Regions from separate parts of the Homo sapiens genome. Here region 1 is linked to region 2. Evidence: promoter capture Hi-C in human tissues and cell types (Jung and others, 2019). All regions are on one chromosome and are shown on one strand. The core of a region is centred on a gene start or on the middle of the fragment in contact, and the rest is flanking DNA. Distances in the headings are between cores, read along the strand shown.

Evidence for each region. Contacts are between HindIII fragments. The study calls those that stand out against the background at their distance.
Region 1: a fragment that was not itself captured here is called in contact with the fragment with the promoter of EPGN in region 2 in 1 of the 25 tissues and cell types used here (mesenchymal stem cells).

What each region holds. Positions count from the first base shown.
Region 1 is chr4:74,263,676-74,270,621 of GRCh38, reverse strand. The region is part of intron 6 of MTHFD2L (methylenetetrahydrofolate dehydrogenase (NADP+ dependent) 2 like); the gene reads right to left. Among named protein-coding and RNA genes, the nearest start is that of EPGN, 41 kb to the left of the region's middle. The HindIII fragment of the contact is 3,036 bases long and covers 3,554-6,589 here.
Region 2 is chr4:74,305,647-74,312,327 of GRCh38, reverse strand. It overlaps EPGN (epithelial mitogen), which reads right to left and starts at 3,858. Exons shown (of 5, transcript NM_001270989.2): 1 at 3,752-3,858; 2 at 3,146-3,235; 3 at 23-143. The coding sequence starts at 3,794. The region is part of intron 2 of LOC105377276 (a long non-coding RNA gene); the gene reads left to right. The HindIII fragment of the contact is 5,515 bases long and covers 159-5,673 here.

The sequences.
Region 1 (6,946 bases), core at 3,822-6,321, 43 kb after region 2:
GCGGCACTACTCACAATAGCAAAGACTTGGAACCAACCCAAATGTCCATTAATGATAGACTGGATTAAGAAAATGTGGCACATATACACCATGGAATACTATGTAGCCATAAAAAATGATGAGTTCATGTCCTTTGTAGGGACATGGATGAAGCTGGAAACCATCATTCTCAGCAAACTGTTGCAAGAACAAAAAACCAAACACTGCATGTTCTCACTCATAGGTGGGAATTGAACAATGAGAACACTTGGACACAGGAAGGGGAACATCGCACACCGGGGCCTGTTGTGGGGTGAGGGAAGGGGGGAGGGAAAACATTATGAGATATACCTAATGTTAAATGACGAGTTAATGGGTGCAGCACACCCACATGGCACATGTATACATACGTAACAAACCTGCATGTTGTGCACATGTACTCTAGAAGTTAAAGTATAATAATAATAATAATAAAAAGAAAAAAATAAAATGAATTTTGGACAAAAAGAAAACCACTAGCTAATGACTAAAACTAACCTTTATCTTTCTATTTAAAAAAAGAATACCTAAAAACCCCATTGTGTAGGGATACAGATTCATTCAGGACCTTAGGTCCGTAAATAGAATATTTATTCTCCATGGTAGCAAATTTGAATTCTATTTTATCTTTGTGCATCCTAAGGCTACATGTTTTACAGTTTTAGATCTGTATTTTGTTTTCTTTAGTGTCTCCTTGGATCAAAATAATCTATACTTATCTGCCTTCTTCTGGAAATATCAAATAATACACCTCTGCTATTATGCCTTAGAGTTTACTAAGGCACTATCACACTTTTGACAAGTCTTCCGCCTGGACCTAAATAATTTCAAATTTCTGTGTAATTCTACTCATATCATACTGGTGAGGATTTGAGGCAGAAAATATATTTCAGAAGATAGAAAATCAGACTCTGAATTTGAAGTTTCAAACAGTTCAAAGTGCTTTTATGTTATGCTGGTCCATCAGCAGACATATCCCTGAAGTACATAGGTAATGAAAGTAGACATAATTTATTCATACATTATTTATACATTATTTATTATTATATATAATGTATTTGTTATGCATTACAAGTATAAAAAACAAGCTACTAGATTTTATAGAAACATTTCCTGCTGTAAACTCCCATTATGATATTTAGCAGTTTTCAAAACTCCCATATTAGTTATCTGAGTTTTCAATAAACTATATTAACTCCAAATTCTGAGTCATTCAGTAGCATATGAAATTGAATTGTTACATACCTATAATATTATCATTTAGAAAATTCTGTCTAACAAAGATAATTATACACTAACGCACAAAGAAGGCTTATGGAGAAAAACTTGTGTTTTTTCCCCCCAAGCTAATTAATCCTTTTATCAACTTATTTCTGGCAAAAGAAAGGGTTTCTTACTAATGCAGAATTTCAAAAGTAATTGAGATGATAATATTAGAGTAAAACAGTCTCCTTGGGAAACTTAGTAAGAAGATTTCTGATTTATCTAAGATTTTTCTGTTTCAGGTGAAAATCTCTTTGATAAGTAAATGAACCAATGGATCATCTATATAGATTCACACTACTTTAAAGCTTATGTCTTTCTCATCAAGGGATTGTAAATATGCTATTTTGTGATTCATTATATGACAAATATAAAATAAATCACCAATGTTGCCTAGGCAAAAAAATACCGAATAAAGGTAACATAGAAAAAAATGATAGCAATACCTAAAGCAAACAGAGCACTAGTCTACACCCTAGGAGCTAAGCTTTCCCTAATGTGAAGGTGTGACCATTAGCTCTTCAGCTAGTGGGAGGCTATATCCTTATTCTCCCTAATTACAGCCGCAACTGGATATTTTCATATGTGTATTTGATAATCTCAGAATTGAGTTTACATGAATTAAAAAAAATTAATCACTTCCCTATGGATACTCCTATCATAGTCATCTGTAACTCTTCATGAAATGGCTCAGTCAAGCCATCCTGATAAAAGGAAGCGCCATATTTACACATCACTTTAATTAGTAGAGTTCAAAGGACTGTGTAAACATTATCTAATTAAACTTCACAACAATTCAGTGAAGCAAGAAAAGGTTTACCCATTATCCTCATTCACAGAAGAAAGATTTTGAGGTGCTGAGAGGCTAAATGATTTCTTGGTTTCACAATGATGAGTCAGAGGTAAGGCTGGGAACAAAACCAGAACTCTAACTCAGATATAAAAGGAACACCATGGAAATGCTTACTCAGGTGGATCACTTCTTCAGCTGGAAATTGTCCTACTACATAAATAAAGATAATAATTAGAGTGGAATTTGTGTGAATGTATGCTTCTTTCTAGATTAGAAAAACTTTCTTCAGCATTATTTGCTTTGCAGACAGTAATATAATGGCTAAATGCATCCTAGATAAATAGAGCCTACATTAGTAATACAAAAACCTCAGTGTCTTCTCCCAGGTATCCTCCTGTTATTTCTAGAAATCCTCAAAAAGTGTTTACAACCCAGTGAGTCAGTGGCAGTGACCACAGAACATTTCCTGTTCTTTTTCTTTTCTCTGGCTTCTTTGGTTCCTATCTGAACAGATATGCCTATCATGCCTGTCATGAGAATAATATTCATGCCAAGGACAATATCTGAATGCCCCCAAAGCTTCTATTCCTTGTGGTACCAGGATGGTGCTAGGTTCCTTACAGAGCTCAGGGCCAGTAGGGCTCTGCTCTGTGCCATATTGGATCGTCTAGGGCTTTGGAATCCTCTTATATTCAGAAATTCATAGGATCATTCAAGTAGTTCCATCACCTTCTGCCTTGGACCATATTTCTGCAAAGTCAATGGACCTGTGGGGTCCAAATGTGTGCTTCTCTTTTCTTCCTCCCATCAATCAAACCTTATTCTCTGAGGGCACCTGTAATCCCAGAACTTTAAGAGGCCAAGGTGGGAGGATCGCCAGAGCCCAGGAGTTCAAAACCAGCCTGGGCAACATAGGGAAACCTTGTCACTACAAACAGCAACAAACAAACAAGCAAACAAACAAAGCTGGACATGGTGGTGCATGGCTGTGGTCCCAGCTACTTGGGAGGGTGAGGTGGGAAGATTGCTTAAGCCCGGGTGGGCAGGGGTGGGCGGTGGATTGAGGCTACAGTGAGCCACGATGGCGCCACCAGCCTAGGCAACAAAGTGATATGCTGTCAAAGAAAGAAGAAAGAAAGAAAAGAAAGAAAGAAAAGAAAGAAAGAAAGAAAGAAAAAAGAGAAAGGAAGAAAGAAAGGAGAAAGAAAGGAAGAAAGAAAGAGAGAAAGAGAAAGAAAGAAAAGAAAAGAAAAGAAAAGAATAGAATAGAAAAAAGAAATGTATTTCCTGCAAACAGACACCAATGCACTTGGGGAATGAGGAGAGACTGCAGGCCAGTAGGGACAATAGGCAAGGGTCTATATTACCAACTGTCATGTTATTCACAGAGTATTAAAGTCGAATGGAATGGGTTTCAAACATTTTAGAAACATTTATTTAAAGGAAAATTGTTTACCAAGCTCAGTGTGTAAAAGGATCAAAGCAAGGAGAGGTATATTAGTTGAAAAGAGGTAGAGGGGAGCTCTGCTACCAGCCAAATCCCTTTAGGTTCCCCAGAGCTCAACTTGAAAAACCAATTAGTCCAATTTCTTTCTTTTAAAGATGTACCTCCTGAAAGCCAGATAGTCTAGATAATACAAAGAAATGAGGCCTGATATTTAGAAAACAAATTACTTTTTTACAATCCCTAGTATTCCCCTCTTATGCAGTCTTAGATTTTCCCTTCTCCTACAACCTTTAAGCATTCTAGCAGCAGCTAAGGCATTCAGTGCTGATTGACTCAGAAAAGTGATAGACAGGAGAGAAGTGGAGACCTTACTTCTTAGCTTCAAGATTTCAAAAGCCTAGCACTTTAGAAGAACAGAGAGACTCAAACAAGAAAATGGAAGGGTTGAGTTCGAAAAGTCAGGAGAGTTGGAGAAGTGGTGAGAGCTTAGACTTCAGAGGTTCCCAGGGAGATGTTGCTAGTCAATGCTCCCTGGGCTGTGTCTTGGAGAACTGGCAAAATCCCTAGTTTTGGTTTTGGAAATCCAAAAACAAAAATATATTTTTCCTATAGCCTGTGTAGTGGTTGGAAAGGTGGTATGGTCCCAAATAATTAAATAGATGGAAGGATGGCTAAAGCAGATGCCTTAGACACTGTCTTAGCATTTCCTGTGTACCTAAGGATGACAGGGTAATAGAGAGATTAAAGCAATTGGGCAAAAAGGAGCACTTCTGCAAGTGCATGTGTAGGCAGTTGGACAAGGACCAAATCAGATGATGACTAGCTCATTTGATGAGAGTTTAGAAACATAATAGTGAAAACTAAATGCCCCTACCATGTCTTGATACTTATATGAAACCTCTGGAACAACATAAGAGTCCACATAGATGAAGCTTGAGTTTCTGCTATGTTCCAGTAACTTTCAAAGGTTGTAATGAAAAAGTCAATAAAGTTTGAGAAAGGAGTGCTTAATGGATGTGTACAGATACAATGGTCTGAATCATTGGTTATCAAATTACTGAACTGTTCTAAAAATTAAATCAGATATACAAATATCAGAATCTAACACATAAATAATTGACTTCAACATATTTAAAGCACTTTGAAAGAAAAATTAAATGGTGCTTTGTTTGTTAAAAGAAAAAAAGTAATGACGTCTCCACATCTGCAAATTAGGCAAACTGCATTTCTTCTTCACCCATCATACAAAGTATTGCTCTCGAAATCTTGCTGGACAAATGTTGATATAGAGAATATTAAGCTTAGCAAATCATATGATATACCAAAGTACTATTTTACAATGTATTTTAATATTATTCATGACAAAAATAGTATGCATGACAAAAATACTAGCCATGGCAATTTTAAGTGCTTGTCTAGGTACCTTTGTTCCTTGGCTAAAATCTAAGGCTCAAGTTCAGATTTCAGGTTTTCCAGCTTAATAACTCAATAACCTTGGACAAGTGTCCATGTAATCCTGTTTCCTTCCCTGTATAATTGCGATAATAGTAGTCCTTCATAAGACTGGATAGAGAAGTAAATGAATAATGTATATAAAGTGTGTAGCACATTGCCTGGCACATCAAAAATATCATAGCCAATCCACACTGAGAGTATGCCACAGTTATTCACACATTATTAAGAGGTCTTGCACGTTTCCACTTACCCTCTGCCATTTCTGCCATGGCCATGAGAAGGTCATATCTGGGCCTGTATGCTGGTCTCTGGATAAGGATGAGACACGTGTGGAGCAGCTACAGTGCATCACACAAACCCACATTAGAGCAGAGCCCTGGCAGACTTGCAGACACATAAATAAGCCAGTTGAATTACAAACAAATGAATGAATCAATCTGAGATTAGCTGAGCTCAGCCTAGTGTGTCAATCCCCCACCAAACCATAGATGTGTGGGTTAGAATAATGATGACTATTGTTTTAAGCCACTGAGTTTTGACATGATTTCTTCCACAGCAATAGCATGAAGTAAAAAAAAAAGTTCTTACTCTCAGTTATAACTAAAATACTTGAAATACGGGTTATAAATTGATATATACTCATCAATTGAAATGTGTTACACATGTACAGTGAATTTGTTTTCCAATAGATCTTAATATCTCCACATGTGATAATATGGAAGGTTTCTTATTACTCCTTCAAATCACTGTACACAAGAACTTCTCATTCATAATCCCAAATAAATCAATTTACTTTTTGTTTCTAGAAAATTAAATAACATATTAAGGTATAGAAACAAATAACAGAAAGTAGTAAAAAAAGAAAAGAAATCCATTAATATTAACGCTGCTGAAACTCAACCAATAATAAGCACTTTGGAATATTTACCTCAAGTCTTTTTTTTTAAGTTTGTACTTAAAAATATTAAAACAATTGAACTATAAATTCACTGCCCTTAAAAATATTAGAATAACAGATATAGATAAAGCATCTCTCAAACTTAATCCTCATTCTTATCTCTTACTAAGTGGATATATATTCTAACACTCTAATTTTTTCTCATTCCTTTATCTATATTATGCATCCATGAAATATAATATATATATGAAATATTGAAATGTTTTTAAAGCATGGTAATCGAATAAGGGAGAAGCACACACTAGATGTAAGTTACTTGGAATAGTCTAGTTCTTGGGTTGGAGGGGTTGAGTACATAGGTATTCATAATTATGTCATTATGTTGACCATATATTCTGTAAGCTTGCTAATTTATAATTTTAGTAGGTTTTTCATAGATTACATTAGATTTTCTAAATAGATAATCATATATGAAAACAAAGACAGTTTTACTTCCTCCTTCCTAGTCTGTATACATTATATTACTTTTCTTTACCTGATGGTATAGAATAGGACTGCCAATACAATGCTGATAGATGTGGTGGGAAGGAAAATCTTTGTTTTATTCCTGATCTTAGGGGGAAGCATTCATTCTTTCACCATTAAGTATGAAAACTGTAAGGTTTTCACAGATGCCCTTCATCAGGTTGGGAAGTCCCCTTCTATTCCCAGTTTGCTGATAATTTTTTTTTATCAGGAATGGATGATAGATCTTGTCAAATGTGATTTCTGAGATTATTAAGGTATTTTTATTTTTGTTTGTTTTAGTTTGCTAATATGGTAAATTACATGGACAGATTTTCAAAGGTTAGACTAATCTTAGATTTCTGGGATAAACCTTATTTGGTCATGATGCATTGCCCTTTTAATATACTGAATTATGCAGGCAAGAGAAAGAAATAAAGGCATCTAAATAGGAAGTCAAACTATCCCTGTTTGCAGATGACATGATCCTATATTTAGAAAACCCCACAGTCTCAGCCAGAAAGCTTATTAAGCTGAAAAACAACTTCCTCAAAGTCTCAAAATACAA
Region 2 (6,681 bases), core at 2,609-5,108:
TTGGATATTTCTTTGCATTTACCTGCAGATGGCTTTCTCTAGCTCATGGTGGAATGCACAAGCACCGTTGATGCAGTAACTGTTATGATCTTCCAGGCAAAGGTGTGAGAACTTCAAGGCTATGGGTCCTTCTATGTTGTCAGCTAGGAAAAGGAGATACAATGTTAGCAAATGAAATGTGTCTTACTTTTATGGTAAATTTTTAATACATATGTAAATAAATTTTTAATTTTAAGGATATTTGGGGGTGGTGCTGTGTCCTTTAAACTATTGATTCTCTTAGCAGGTTGTATTCACAAGGGCTGGGTTAATATCATCTAGACATATGACATATTATTAATTAATTAGGGGATGGAGGTGGATTGATGATTGTTTCACTTTTTAGAAGCAATGCAGTAAGACAGAAAAGGCAACAAATTCACCAAAAGGTGGCAGCATTGGTTCTAGTCTTAGCAGGTTATTTTGAGCGATGCTTCCCAGACTTGTGTCTGAATACTAATTAACATAGAAGATCTCACATAATATTTCGATTTTCTTCCTTTACACCTGAGAAGTCAGCACTTGCGAAGATTTGAATTTACACTTGTGAGATAATAAACAAGATTCTTATTCCTGATTCTCTCTGATGTACAAAAGACAGACCTATGCCATTCTTGGTGTTTATGCAGTGGGAGTGACCCTTAGGTAAAATTGCCTAATTGAGTCCTTTGGGGCATACTTTATTGATTCTTAAATGTTTCTCAAACAGAATTAATGGGATTTTACTTGTCATTTTTATAAATAAACATATTTCCTCATCATTATGATAAAGGTATACCATATTTGCCTTGCTAAGATTAAGAGAATCTTACTTGTTTGTAGGGAAAAAACAGTTTTAAAAGGCATTCTTTTTTATATTAAAAATGCTAAATCTTTAGATGTTAAGATTACAAACAAAATACTATGTTGTATTACTTTATTTTGGTGAGAACACACATTATCTTCTAATTCACGTTCATTTTGTTGAATAGGATGAATATAATTTATCATTTTAATAATTAATTCTCAGGCAGTGAGAATTTTCCATTATAAACTGTGCTGGGTGCTTTCTATTTCAAGACTAAACAAGTTCGATTAACTAAGCCTGAAACTAGATTTGGTAGAAAAATGTGAGAATTAAGCCATTTCTAAAGAAAAGTTATACCAGAGAGACTCATCTTTCCCCTAAGAATGAGAATGATCATAACTTTATAAAAATTTTTCTAAGATACTAGATTGATATTTTTAAGTTAGATAAAAAACAAAAGGAAAAATTAAAGTTCTCCATCAAGAAAGCAAAGGAAAAATACAGAAATGATATACAGTTGTACCTCTGTATTCATAGGTTCCACATCTGTGGATTCAACCAACCTCATAGGGAAAATATTTGAAAAAAAAGCATCTGTACATAACATGTACTGACTTTTCTTGTCATTATTCCCTAAACAATGCAGTATAACAACTATTTGCATAGCGTTTACAATGTTTTAGGCATAACTAATCAAGGGATGATTTAAAGTACATGGGTGTGTGTCTATAGGTTATATGCAAATATTTCACTATTTTATATAAGGGATTTGAGCATCTGTGGATTTTGGTACCCTCTGGGCAGGAGGAGGAGGTCTTGGAACCAATGTTCAACCAATAACGGAGGATGACTGTATTGGATTCCTTTTTACCATTATTATTACTTGTAACTCAAAATATTTTATTTGCTGTTCACCATTAAGGAAGAAAAAAAAATTTAGTACTGAGCATGCTATTACGAAGTCAGTCATTGAGAGAAAACTATGCTTCTTTAATTTTCTGCAGTATATTATCTTCTTTTTTTTTTTTTTTTTTTTTTTTGAGACGGACTCTCACTCTGTCACCCCGGCTGGAGTGCAATGGCCCCATCTCAGCTCACTGCAGCCTCCACCTCCTGGGTTCAAGCAATTCTCCTTCATCAGCCTCCTGAGTAGCTGGGATTACAGGCATGCGCCACCACGTCCAGCTAATTTTTGTATTTTTAGTAGAGACAGGGTTTCACCATGTTGCCCAGGCTGGTCTCAAACTCCTGACCTCAGGTGATCTGCCCGCCTTGGCCTCCTAAAGTGCTGGGATTACAGGCACGAGCCACTGTGCCAGGCCAGTATAATATAGTACTGAATATAATAATTATAATAAGGTGTTTCCTCTTTGTTTGAAGGCTTAGAAGACAAATAGTTGGCTAAAAGTTATTCTATAACCCACATTGATTTCGTTTTGCAAATCAACAGATATTCAAAAAATCAAATGGGTAAAATATTTCGAGACAATCATTTAAAATTTTAAATTATTGGTGACATGAAGAACACTGAGATATGACAATCTTCCTTTATTTGCCTGACTCTGAGTGCAAGACATTGTTTCCTCTGTCCTAAATCAAATTGCCAGCCTTCACATAGCAATCAGGATGCGATTTGCAGAAGAATCATAACCACTCAGTCACAGGTCTTGGTAAGCAACAAGCTTTCCAAGTTTCACCTCTAAGAGTTTAAACAGATTAGAGAAAGAACGCTGATGCTCAAGAGCATCCAGAAGCCACTGTGATAATAATTAAGTGCAAAAGAAAATATATCATTACCATCAACAACAAAAATTGGGTACAAGTGGTTAGGAAATACAGCATATGCTAAAATAACAACAAAAACTCCAAAGCAAACAAGAAAAAAAGGTCATTCCAAAGATGAGGGAAAGTGCTGTTCATCTTGTAGCCATAATGTCTTTGGCATCAAAGCTTATAATCACAGATCAAAATATAATGCTGCTCATCAAGAATGCCAAAATGGGGACAAACTGTCTCTGTACACACAGGGGTTATTGGGAACCAAGCAGAAATGAAGCAGAAAATGTGGCCTGTTTCACATTCAAGACAGTAACTGAAGACAGCTTTTGTCTCATTTGCTTAACTTCCTCCTTTTAAAAAGGCAATTATTTCCTGGCACATTTATCTGTCACTTCAATTTAACAGCATCCTGCTAAAAGAGCTGATTATCTAATAATAAAATATATATTAAAAATGGCCAATATTGCTTTTATCACAATCCAAATTTCTCTCCCAAGTTTTAGAAAAGTCTTGTGAAATATGAAAATGGGAAGAAAATACCTTCTGTTTTGTTAACTGTCCAGTTACCTTGCTGGGCTGTGATTGGAGGTGTTACAGTCACGGCTGCCTCTTCGGTCAGTGCTGTCATTGCTGTATTAAGGGGGCAAAAGCATCTTTAACAGAGAGCCTCCTTCTATGTACAAGCAACAGATGGAAAGTATTCTTATTCTGTTTATTCCAATTTCTATTTTTTTAATTTATTACAGTTGAAATCCATAACGTGACTAGGGCAACATACTTACAGTTTCTCATCCATTCCATTGACTATATTAGGATTAAAGCAAATAAAAACCCAATATTTAAGACCATTGATACATTTACATATTAATTAAAAAATAAGAACCCTATAGTATAGTAGCTAAATGTATCAATTACTCTTCAATTGTATAAAGCAAACATTCTGGAGGTCTCAAAAAAGGTGTCAAAATATATTAGGAAAGGAACATACAGGACATAAGAAACTAAATTAATCCACAGATTCATTACTCTGATCTTTGTCATAAAGAACAACTGTTAGAAGCCAACTTCTCTCTAATGCAGAGAAAATAAATTCTATTCACATTTTACACTGATATAAAGTTAACAAAACAAAAGGAAATTACCTACCGTTGAATAAAAGATAGACTGATATTGGAACTCCCAAAGCCATTTCCTGTAGTTGCTTAACTTTCTTTCTCTTATCCTTCTAGACTGACGGGTGGAAGGTTTTTATTGAGCTCTCTGAGTCTTTGTTGCATTTATATTTCATGAAGCGTCATCTGGCAGTTCTTACCAATCAAAAAAATATGTACTTCTGGCAGCAGCAGAAAGCCTCTGGGCGCTCACGCACTTGGTTAGGATACCTGTATTATCTAGCAATGTGATCAAGTTTTCTTTTGAAACACTGGTTTCCTGTTACCTGTGGGCATAATCATGTATGTAAAAGTACTTAAAACAACAAGAACAAAATGTAATTTCAGGAAAGGCTCCCATTGGTGTGAAGAGAACTATACCAGCTCAAACTATGCTAGAAACCTATACGGGAGTTCAACAAACATAACTGCAAATTAGGAAGCAGCATAACCTGTTTCTAAAAGAAATATACCTGAAACTATAGTTGGTTATACCACCTTTTATTACAGACTATAAGTTCCATTTCAAATCAAGATAATTTGTTAATTTAGTTGCAGAGAACAGTTAAATTTGTGAAAACACAGAGGTTTCATATTCCATTTTAGTGTTTGTTTCTTAGTGTTACTATGACAAGTGCTGTAAATAAAATTATTTTTAATAGTATAATATTCACCTTTCTGTCATCCTGCTATTTAACATTTTTCTGAGTAAATGAAATGGGCTGCCATATTCCAGGAACAACAATGCTTAAATCTGCATCCCAATGATTAAGCTACAGAGAACCAGTAAAGTACCAACATAATGATAATAGCAATAATAATAATATTAAAATTCTCCATTAAGAGAAAATTAAGATGACATTTAGTTTGGATACATCCAATGAATAGAAAGTTTCTAAGTTAATACAACATTCAAATTATTTCTCAAGTTCATCTAGTTGTAATTATTAAAGTGGCACTTTAAAGGCCAAAATATGTCATTACAGCTACTATATTTTACAACTACAGAAATTTTCACTTGCCCCAAATTAATATAAATGATTTATAAATATATCTTCCTGAGGCATTGAGTCTTTCTGTCTGGAATTTCAATTCCTTGTATTTTCTTGAAACTTGAAACCTCAAAACCCTAAAAACATATTCAAGTCAAGATAGGTTATCTTTTGCATCATGTCCACTCAGCAAATTAGATTTACCAGAAAGGAGCCCTTTCACTATTCAAATATAAATGTGGTGTTAGAAATCACACAAGAACAAGCTTGTTGAACTCATTATAACTTGGGCAATCACTTGCCACAGGAGTCATCATTTTAAAGTTAAAATAATATAATAGTACTTGGCTCGCTTTAAATGTGTCTACATTTTGCATTTCTACTTTTGTAGGTTTTTAAAAAACTGTTGATTACTAAGTCGATTTCTAGATAATATATTTCCCAGGCAAATAACATTTGAATTATAAATTGAACAATCGTCTTTGCACCATTGCTGAGAATTTAAAAAGAAATCATTTACAAAAGATTAAATAAACCATCACAATTCTTTTTGTAGTTTCTGGAGGGAGATGTTAGGACTCATATTAAATACTTTCTTTTTTTTTTTTTTTGAGATGTTTTCTCACTCTGTCACTCAGGCTGGAGTGCAGTGGTGCGATCTCAGCTCACTGCAAGCTCCTCCTCCTGAGTTCATGCCATTCTCCTGCCTCAGCCTCCCGAGTAGCTGGGACTGCAGGTGCCTGCCACTAGGCGCTGCTAAGTTTTTGTATTTTTAGTAGAGACGGGGTTTCACTGTGTTAGCCAGGATGGTCTCGATCTCCTGACCTCATGATCCACCCACCTTGGCCTCCCAAAGTGCTGGGATTAAATAGTTTATTTCTAAGACTGAGACATCAAAGTACAAAGATTATCTTTGTAAAAACTCTTAACTGTAGCTAGTGCAGTCCTTTGCACTTTACAGGTTTCCCTACACATCTCAATTCTTTCTTCAGTAACCCTGGCCCAAACAAATCCAGTGCCTAACATCTAGTAAATACTCAATGAATCTGTCTTCAGAGAATAAGGAAATAAATAGGCATTATTTCTATTCTCACATGACAAATGACAAATTGAGGCCCAAAAGAATTAAGTGACTTGCCAAAGGACATGCCTAGAGTCAGCACTTCAATCCTGGCCAGGTGCAGTGGCTCATACCTGTAATCTCAGCACTTTCAGAGGCTGAGGGAGGAGGATTGCTTGAACCCAGGAGTTTGAGACCAGCCTGGGCAACAGAGCAAGACCCCGACTCTACAAAAAATAAATTAGCTGGGCATGAGTTACTTGAGAGGCAGAGGTAGGAGGATCACTTGAGCCTGGGAGGTCAAGGCTGCAATGAGCCATGATTACACCATTGCACCCCAGCCTGGGCTACAGACCCTGTCTCAAACAAACAAAACAAAACAAAACGAACAAAAAAAAGGACTTCAATTCTATATTTACAGATTCTAAATCGTATGCTCTTTCCATTTACCTAGCTGTGTTCTCTTGTAGTAGTTGTTGTACTGATCTCAAAAGAATTCCCTCAATTATCTCCTAAAATCAAGCTTTAAATAAATTACCTTTATTAGAAAAAAAACTAAATATTTAATTAACTGTGATTTTCACTCACATCTGTGCTGAGAGATGGAACTGAAGCCTCTCTGGTAAACTGGGCCACTTAATATAGAAACCCATCTTCTGCTTTAGCTTATGGAGTATACCAGAAAGTAACTTTAAGTCATCAAACATGTTGCCTTTCCTCTGGGGCCCATACTCATGGCTCCCACTTAACAATCTTTACAGGAAAGTCCACTCCCTTCACATCTTCAATCCTCTCACCCAAAAGTCCTTTCTCCAAATCCTAAAGAATGGGGGGCAGATGGATACTGTAAGGTGGTTTTTCTGATATCTTTAT